Linked DNA regions of Homo sapiens: all the other regions are linked to region 2. Evidence: promoter capture Hi-C in human tissues and cell types (Jung and others, 2019). All regions are on one chromosome and are shown on one strand. The core of a region is centred on a gene start or on the middle of the fragment in contact, and the rest is flanking DNA. Distances in the headings are between cores, read along the strand shown. Region 1 overlaps TPRA1 (transmembrane protein adipocyte associated 1). Region 2 holds the start of MGLL (monoglyceride lipase). Region 3 overlaps SEC61A1 (SEC61 translocon subunit alpha 1).

What was found. Contacts are between HindIII fragments. The study calls those that stand out against the background at their distance.
Region 1: a fragment that was not itself captured here is called in contact with the fragment with the promoter of MGLL in region 2 in 1 of the 25 tissues and cell types used here (small bowel).
Region 3: a fragment that was not itself captured here is called in contact with the fragment with the promoter of MGLL in region 2 in 1 of the 25 tissues and cell types used here (IMR-90 fibroblasts).

What each region holds. Positions count from the first base shown.
Region 1 is chr3:127,579,115-127,581,986 of GRCh38, reverse strand. It overlaps TPRA1 (transmembrane protein adipocyte associated 1), which reads left to right. Exons shown (of 11, transcript NM_001136053.4): 2 at 1,824-1,965; 3 at 2,115-2,247. The coding sequence starts at 1,841. Among named protein-coding and RNA genes, the nearest start is that of MIR6825, 5.2 kb to the right of the region's middle. RefSeq lists an enhancer at 1,389-2,350. The HindIII fragment of the contact is 6,986 bases long and covers 1-2,872 here.
Region 2 is chr3:127,821,126-127,824,042 of GRCh38, reverse strand. MGLL (monoglyceride lipase) reads left to right here and starts at 1,528. Exons shown (of 8, transcript NM_007283.7): 1 at 1,528-1,734; 2 at 2,205-2,349. The coding sequence starts at 1,725. RefSeq lists a silencer at 567-1,086. The HindIII fragment of the contact is 31,525 bases long and covers 1-2,917 here.
Region 3 is chr3:128,061,104-128,063,974 of GRCh38, reverse strand. All of the region lies in intron 7 of SEC61A1 (SEC61 translocon subunit alpha 1), which reads right to left. Among named protein-coding and RNA genes, the nearest start is that of SEC61A1, 10 kb to the right of the region's middle. The HindIII fragment of the contact is 4,484 bases long and covers 1-2,871 here.

The DNA.
Region 1 (2,872 bases), core at 131-2,630, 240 kb after region 2:
GAGGCCTGGGCCTTTGATGTGTTGTCGGGACAAATCTTTTTTCTTTTTCTTTTTTTTTTTTTTTTGAGATGGAGTCTCGCTCTGTCGCCCAGGCTGGAGCACAGTGGCACCATCTCGGCTCACTGCAAGCTCCGCCACCTGGGTTCATGCAATTCTTCTGCCTCAGCCTCCTGAGTAGCTGGGACTATAGGCACATGCCACCATGCCCAACTAATTTTTTTTTTTTTTTGTATTTTAGTAGAGATGGGGTTTCACCATGTTGTCTAGGCTGGTCCCGAACTCCTGAGCTCAGGCAATCTGCCCGCCTCGGCCTCCCAAAGTGCTAGGATTACAGGCATGAGCCACCGCGCCCGGCCACATCTTTTTTACTTTTTAAAATTTACTGAAGTACACCTATGACTTAGGAGTCATCGGTGTGTGGCTTGATGAATTACCACACAGTGAACACACCTGTGTACCCACCACCTGGATCTGACACCCAGACGCTGGCAGGCCTCCCCCAATTACCATGCGCTTCATCTCCCCAAAGGCGCCCTGTCTGCATTTCTCCACGGATCATACGCCTGTCGGCCCTTGTGCCTGGCTTCACGCTATATCACTTCTGAGAGTCATTCGTGTTGCCTGTAGCAGTGGGTTGTTCTTTTTATGCTGTGCAAGTGTCAACCGTAGGAACCTGCCACCATTTATGCCCATGCTCTGGGGCTGCTCCCCGCCTGGGGCTGTCATCCACAGCCTTTACAAGCATTCCTGGTGAAGCAGAGTCACAGGCATCTGGCCCAATCTGTTCAAATCATTCTAAATGTTGGCATCTGTTACGTTCTGGTGCCCCAGGCCACACCTGGATCACCCCGAACTCCCTGCGGAAGTACCTGTTGCTGCCTCCTGAGAGTCCTCTAGCTTAGGAGTCTTGGTTTTCCGACCAGACCCTCAGTCCCCTAACCCCAGAGTGGTTCCCAGGACCCCAGACCACCAGCTCTCCTGTCTTCCAGGCTAGACTCGACCTCTCATGCTCAGAGTGTCATGTGGACCTCTGGCCTATGGACCCACCCTGTCCCTGGCTTCACCCTGCAGCGTGGCCATTGCAGACACACTTGCCTTGCCCCTCTGTGGTACAGCCTCTTCCCCCATGCCCATCTCCAGTTGGAGACCTCCTGTGCATCTTCTAGGCATGGCTCAGTGTCCCCTCCATCTTTGTCTGTGGTGGCAGAGGGAGACAAGGGCCAGAGGGTGCAACCGAGGAGGGCATGGTGCTCAGCTCTGGCCCTCAGCAGCGCTGTGGCCTCACACAAGTCAGTGGCCTCTGAGTTCTGCATGGTGTGGCAGGTCAGAACCATGGCTGACCGCTACCAAGAACTCCTCACGTGTGTGCCTTGTTTGAGGCACTCGGCATCACCACAGCCTCACTTGTTACACCCATTCCATGGTGGGGGGACACAGGCACGGAGAGGACAGGAAGGAAGGGGCAGGGCTGGGCTGTGAACCCAGAGCCTATGCTCTTACCCACGCTGCTCTCATGGGCCCTCAGGACTGAAAGGAGCCAAGTGGCTGTGCCTTGCACATGGAGATGCTTAGCTGAGGGGGTGGCTTTGTTAGACTATTTGCAGGTCGTGAGATAGAGCCTGAGATGGGGGACTGGGCCCCTGCCTGGGGGATTGGGTCGTGACCTGTGTGGAGCCCCACACTGAGCTGCAGTGGGTGGGGAGGGTGGTTTACAGGGGTGCTCTGTGCAGCCCCTCTGATTTTCCCCTGGGAGTCCCAGGTCCAGGGGAAGGAGGACAGTGGCCCAGGCCACACAGCTCACTGGGCGGCTCTCACTCCCCCAGGGCTGGCTGCTGGCGGGATGGACACCCTGGAGGAGGTGACTTGGGCCAATGGGAGCACAGCGCTACCCCCACCCCTGGCACCAAACATCAGTGTGCCTCATCGCTGCCTGCTGCTGCTCTACGAAGACATTGGCACCTCCAGGTGAGGCAGTCACAACGCTGGGCAGGCTCGCTGAGTGTCAGTGGCTTTTCCTGGTGTAGGGGGGTGGTGAGGGTGGGGCAGATTGTGTCTTGGAGAGGGGGTGCATATGTGGCCTCGCCAGTGAGCCAGCTCCTGTGCCCATCCGCCAGGGTCCGGTACTGGGACCTCTTGCTGCTCATCCCCAATGTGCTCTTCCTCATCTTCCTGCTCTGGAAGCTTCCATCTGCTCGGGCGAAGATCCGCATCACCTCCAGCCCCATTTTTATCACCTTCTACATCCTGGTGAGTTCACTGCAGTTGACAGAAAAGCCAACTCCAACTGGGTTAAACAAAAAGGGAATTAACTGCTTCTATAATGAAAATAAGCTTCAGGTATGGCTGGATCCAGGCAGTTAAATGATATCGTTAGGATCTGTTTCTGCATCTCTGATCTCTTTGGGACTTATCTCAGATGAGTTCCCCTCATATGGTGTCAAAGATGGCCAGGAGCAACTTTGAGCTAACATCCTGCCTCTACAACTCAGGCAAACAGTGCCTGTTTGCTGATAGTGCCAGTGTAGACCTGGGATTTCCTCTGACTGGCCCACCTAGGATCCCATCCTCATCCCTGAGCCAAGCACTGTGGCTAGCAAGGAAAGGGGCACTGTGAAGCTGGGAGGGCAGCATCAGCTCAGCTGGACCATATGGACTGAGGGAGCCCACAACAGAATTGGGGAGCTGGTACTAGAGGGGAGGGGAATGGATGCTGGGTGGGGAAAATGCCCACTGCATCCTCCATCCATTCGTCCCCCATCTGTCCATTCTGTGAAACCTCTTTGGAGAAGACATCTTACTTGCTGGGAGAGCCTGCATTGTCACCACTTGGTGGTCCTGGCACGTGTTGCCTGGGGAGAGGTGTCAGGGCTGT
Region 2 (2,917 bases), core at 279-2,778:
CACTACCCTAGAGTCAAGTGGACCCCCTCCAGCATTTTTTTTTCCCCGAGATGGAGTCTCACTCTGTCACCCAGGCTGAAGTGCAATGGTGTGGTATCGGCTCACTGCAACCTCTGCCTCCCGGGTTCAAGCGATTCTCCTGAGTAGCTGGGACTACAGGCGCATGCCACCACGACCGGTTAATTGCCCCTCCAGCATTGTATGTGTCTGACTGCAATGAAGTGTGAGTGTGTCTGTGTGCGACTGTGTGTGTATGATGTGAGTGTGTCTGTGTCTATGTGGGGGCCAGGTGTATAGTCTGCATATGTCTGTGCACCTCTGTGTCTCTGTGGGTTGTCTGTGCCTATGTCTCGGCTTGTGTGTGTGCATGCATGTGTGGTCTGTGTGTGTCTGTATGCATGTGGTATCTCTGGGATGTGTGTCTGTATGTCCCTGCGTGCAGTGTAGTGACTTTGGGAGTGCACATGTGTACACGTGTGGTGAGTGTGCGGCCCTGCGCGAGTTGTCTGTGTACGTGTGGTGCCTGTGGGTCTGTGTGCGCGCGTGTGCCCGTGGGTGTGGTGTGTCCTCCCGCGCTGAGGCTCCCATGAACCCAGCTCAGTTCAGGCCTCCCTGACAGTCCTCGGGCGGCCACCCCGGGGCGCGGCTGTCCACGAGGCGCGGAGGAGAGGAGTGCGTGGCTGGGTCGGCGGGCGGCGCCCCCGCTCCTCCCCGCGGGCCGGGCACACGTGGGCCCCGGGCGCCGCCTCCCCGCGCCGCCCGCCGCCCGCCGGGTCCCGCGCGTCCCCACCCACCTCGGGCCGCCCCCGCCGCCGAGCCGGCCCAGGGATAAAGTGGCGGCGCAGACGCCGCACCCTGTCGCCGCGAAGCCGGTCGCGCGCAGCTCGTCCCGGCCCTGGCCCGCCGCAAACGAGGATCCGCTGCGCTCGGGGAACGCGACAGCGGCGCTCGTGGCCCCGGTAACTGCCTCCCGGCCCCTGCCCCAGCCCGCCAGTGCCGCCGTCAGGGGTGGGGAGCAGCACTGGGGTCCCGGACACGCCCGGCGTGGGCTCCCGCTACCCATGTGTGCGTGTGTGTGTGTGCACGGTGTGTGTGCGCGCGTGTCCGAGTGTGCGCGCGTGTGCGCGCGCGCGCGCCCTCCCTGCTCCTTCGCACCAGCCCCCAAACCAACTTGTCCCCATCAACTCCATCTTTCTAGTCCCCACCTTCCCCGGTGCAGACACCCGGCGAAGCCCACCCGGTTTTCCCAGCGGCATTTCCGATGACAGCTTCGGGGCTACGTGTCCTGTGCTGTCGGAGACGCACAGGAAGCAAAGTTTGTGAGAAGCCTTGGGGGCGACTTTGCCTTGGGCACCCGCATTTGTGCGTCTGCGAGGTGCCTCGGTGTGCGCGGAGCTAGTTTCCCAGTTTCCCGGGCCCCTCCCTTCTCCGAGCCCCTCTAGCGATTTGTTTAGGAAAAGTGATGACATGAACTAGTAGTGGAGAATCGCAGCGCCGCTCCCCGCCCTGGGGAGGGAGGGGAGCCCCGGAGAGCCTGCCGGTGGGAGCTGGAAGCAGGCTCCCGGCTGAGCGCCCCAGCCCGAAAGGCAGGGTCTGGGTGCGGGAAGAGGGCTCGGAGCTGCCTTCCTGCTGCCTTGGGGCCGCCCAGATGAGGGAACAGCCCGATTTGCCTGGTTCTGATTCTCCAGGCTGTCGTGGTTGTGGAATGCAAACGCCAGCACATAATGGAAACAGGTTTGTCATGTATCCTTGGAATTTCAGATGGGAGGAATAATCTGAGTATCATCCACCTCATTATTGTGCCCACTTGAAACTGTTCCTTGGAGATTTTAAGATAGATGGGTCTTCTTGCAGCTGGGTCTTTGTACCCATAGAGCTGACTATAATTTCCACTTGATTACAGCTAAAATAGTCTTTAAGATGAAGTTTCCTGAAATGATTTAAAATAAACACAGATGGGAAGGGGGAAAAACTGTAATGAGGCACTTAAAAAATAAAGTGAGCATTTTCTTAAGAACAAATGGGATTTTTCAGTCTTGGAGAGGTTTGCAAGAAATGTATGTATGTTTTAAACCTTTGAAACAGAGGGGTTTTTTAAACTGCTTTTAAAAAAATGTTACTGACTCTGAACTAGACTTTTCTCTCCTATCCATACATGTTCTTGAGATATTTCTGACTTTGGAATATGTCACTTTTCCTTCTAGGACCTGAAGACCCTTCCAGCATGCCAGAGGAAAGTTCCCCCAGGCGGACCCCGCAGAGCATTCCCTACCAGGACCTCCCTCACCTGGTCAATGCAGACGGACAGTACCTCTTCTGCAGGTACTGGAAACCCACAGGCACACCCAAGTAAGTCTTCCCCAGAAAGTCACCCCAGGTGACAGGGGAGCATGGCCCCTGCTTCTCCTCTGGTCGTTATCATGTGCCATCTGGGGCGGGGCCGCTTTCTCTATGACCTACTTCCCCTGCCGTTTTAATGTTAGGCTGAGCAATGTTAACAAAGCTAAAATGTATACTTTATAATTTTTAAATTTAAGAAGCAGGAATTCTTTTTTCATTATAACAACTCAGATATGGATCCTACCGTATGGCAATTTTCAAAAATTCCACATGACTTTATTTTTTGTACTGGAGTTGATTTCCGGTTGTACAGGCATTCATTTAAAATCAAACCCGACAATTAAGGAAAATCCCCTAGATGGATGAGAAACCCGAAGTAATACATATATCTTCACCTTTGCTCACTTTTCCTGCTTGTTTCTGAGCTTCTGAAGATGGCATACATGTGTCACCAGGAAGAAAGGGGCCTGGGTATTTCCTTCTGATTCCTTGCCAGCTCAATTACTTTGTACATTTTCCATCAAGGATTTGTCTTGCTATTAGAAGCAAACATTGGGACTATACACAAGACAGCTGG
Region 3 (2,871 bases), core at 270-2,769, 240 kb before region 2:
CTGAGGGACTGAGGGATATAGGAAAGGGACCCAATCTAAGAACCAGACAACAGAGTAACAAGTGAGAGGAAGGCGGGGAGTGTGGTGCATTATTAAGGCCTAAGTTTTAGACATCAGCAAGAAATTTACTTACGTTAAAAAACTAAAAAGCGAAAAAAAGAAACAAGTGATAACCTCTGCCGTTCCAGGACAGCATAACCATCCCATAATGGAAGCCTGGCAACTCACGCTGCTTCTACTGGCAGGAAGCTGGCATTACTTCCAGAGACAGGGTCTCTGTGGGCAGTGTGGGGTCATGGTATCAGTACTCTGAGGAGCACTTTTAAAAAAGTCAAATAGGAGTCGGGCGTGGTGGCTCACGCCTGTAATCCCAGCACTTTGGGAGACTGACGCGGGCGGATCACAAGGTCAGGAGTTCAAGACCAGCCTGGCCAAGATGGTGAAACCCTGTCTCTACTAATAATACAAAAAAATTAGCCGAACATGGTGGCGGGCGCCTGTAATCCCATACTCAGGAGGCTGAGGCAGAGAACTGCTTGAACCCGGGAGGCGGAGGTTGCAGTGAGCCGAGATGGCGCCAATGCACTCCAGCCTGGGTGACAGAGCAAGACTCCGTCTCAACAACAACAAAAAGTCAAATAGGGACTGTATTTGATGGCCACTTTGGAGTACAATTAATTTTACATGACAGATTAAATAGGAAAGCTGAAACTGAAGGTCAGACTGTACTTAGAGGACCCATCTAGTACTGTGGAACTTGTCAAATGTGTCCATTCCCTTGTGCCTAACAGTGAAATAGAGTGAGATGTAAGAAATGAAGACACCCTACAAAAAGGAAAGCTTCTATTCAACCAAAATAACTTGGTAGCTGAGGGAATGGGAAGAGTAACCAAACTGATGGTATGTGGGGTTTGCCTTTTAAAAGCACATTAAATAAAAACTTGAGAAGGGATCACTTTAACCCAAAGGTAATAATTCTGTCCTCTGGACCCAGATCTGGATGGTGAGCCTAGAGAGGTGGCCCAAATCTGTAGTTCAGCTCAGGAGCCATCCAGACCCCAAGTGCCTGACATTGAGTTTCGGTGCTGCAGGTGTGACATCTCCAGATTGTGTCTCTGGATGCTGTCAGGAGTAGGTTCTGCTCCCTGATTTTCCTTTCATAGAACAAATCTTCCAACTTTCACTTTTACTCCTCCCATGACTAAAAAGCAAGTGAATCTAGGAAAAGGTGAAACTAAAGAACTCAAAAGCACTGTTCCCAAGTTTCTAACACGTGATAGCTAGGACCACCTGCTACATCTTCCTGGACCATTCCGAGATGACATGTCAGGCAGACCATCTAACCAATATGACCACTGACCTCCTCTGCTGTGGCTTCTGTGAAAGAGACACCATATCCTAACTGGCCATCATGTCCTCATCTCACCCTGTGGCGGTCTTTCGTCAATTCCCATCCTTTCCACCTTTTGGTCCTGTGTGACAAGGCTGGCCTGTTTCCCCACGGTTTCAAATTTGGGACTAATTCCCAGTTCTGCATTGTTCCTGCTGCCCAGGGAAGCAGCAGTGATTACTGTCTCTGCCTGTAGAATCTCATTCAACAGCCTCCCCTGTCCCAAGCCAAGCTGCAACATCTCCAGGCACAGCTGCAAAGCTGCCGTCCCAGCTGTGCCCTCTGTGTGGCTCTCCCTGCCCCTCCCTAGGCTCTCCCTCTAGCACCACTCACTGCCCACATGCAGGCCATGGGGCACAGCCCTTCCTGAATGCATCTCGTGTCAGCCAGGTCCCAAACACGAGCAACTGACATGTAGACACACTGACTTCAAGGCCAGACAAATCCACCTTTGCTTCTTAGTTTTCCCCCACCTTGAAAGTGCCTCTCTGGTCCCCTCTCTCAACTTGCTTCCTCCAAATGCCCTCACACAGTGCTCTCCTGTAGGATGGCTTAATTGGGGCTGGATTACTGCTGCACGCACCTAGCTGCTCTCTCTGCCTTTCAGTGCAGAGCAAATCACTTCTTCCAAACTCTGGCTCCCATTACTCAATGCCCTGCTGCAGAATGGAACATGAGCCTCTGGCGGCTACTACTGGGCTGCTAAGCCACCAGGGGCTCCCCTCTGACTTTACTTCCTTCCCACTCAGGCACTCCCCAAAAGCCAGTCACCATGATGGTCTTGACAAATACCTGAACTCCTACAATGCCATCCCCCTCTTGCCTTTTCACATCCTGTCAAACTTTGCCTTCTGGACCTGCTTCTCCCAATTTACCTTGGATTTCCTAAATTTATACAAAGTACTCAAGGAAGCATCAAATGTGATCTTGCCCACTCTTCTCTATGGCTCCCTATCTCAAGCTCCACTCTCCTTTGTAACCTGTTAGGCACATGCAGCCTTCACTTGTTTGGGGACCAGTTTTCCATCTCATTAATGAGATAATATGGTCTCTGGAGGCCAAGGACTCTGTTTCCAACATTCAATTAAAAGAAAACTCTCAAATATGCATGATTATTTCTCCTGGAATGCTCCTCAGTGAAGAAGATATTTAGTGCCAAAAAATGTTTATTTCCTTTCCCTAATAAGTCACACTCTCTAAGGCTTCCCTTGTATGTTTTGAACTTTTTATTAAAAACATGCTGTTACAAGATTTCCACGGCACTTGGTGGATGTAGCACAGCATGCCAATGTTTGATACACATCTACCAGGAGCCAGGCATCATGTAATTTCATGTTGCTTCTCACTGCATCCTGGTAACCAAGATTCAGTGGTGCAGGAATCTGCCCAAAGCCACGTATGTATGACTAACAGGAACAGCCAGGATTTGAACGCAGGTGCTAAGCTCCAAGTTCAGGCCTTTTTCAGAAAGCTGCCCCTTG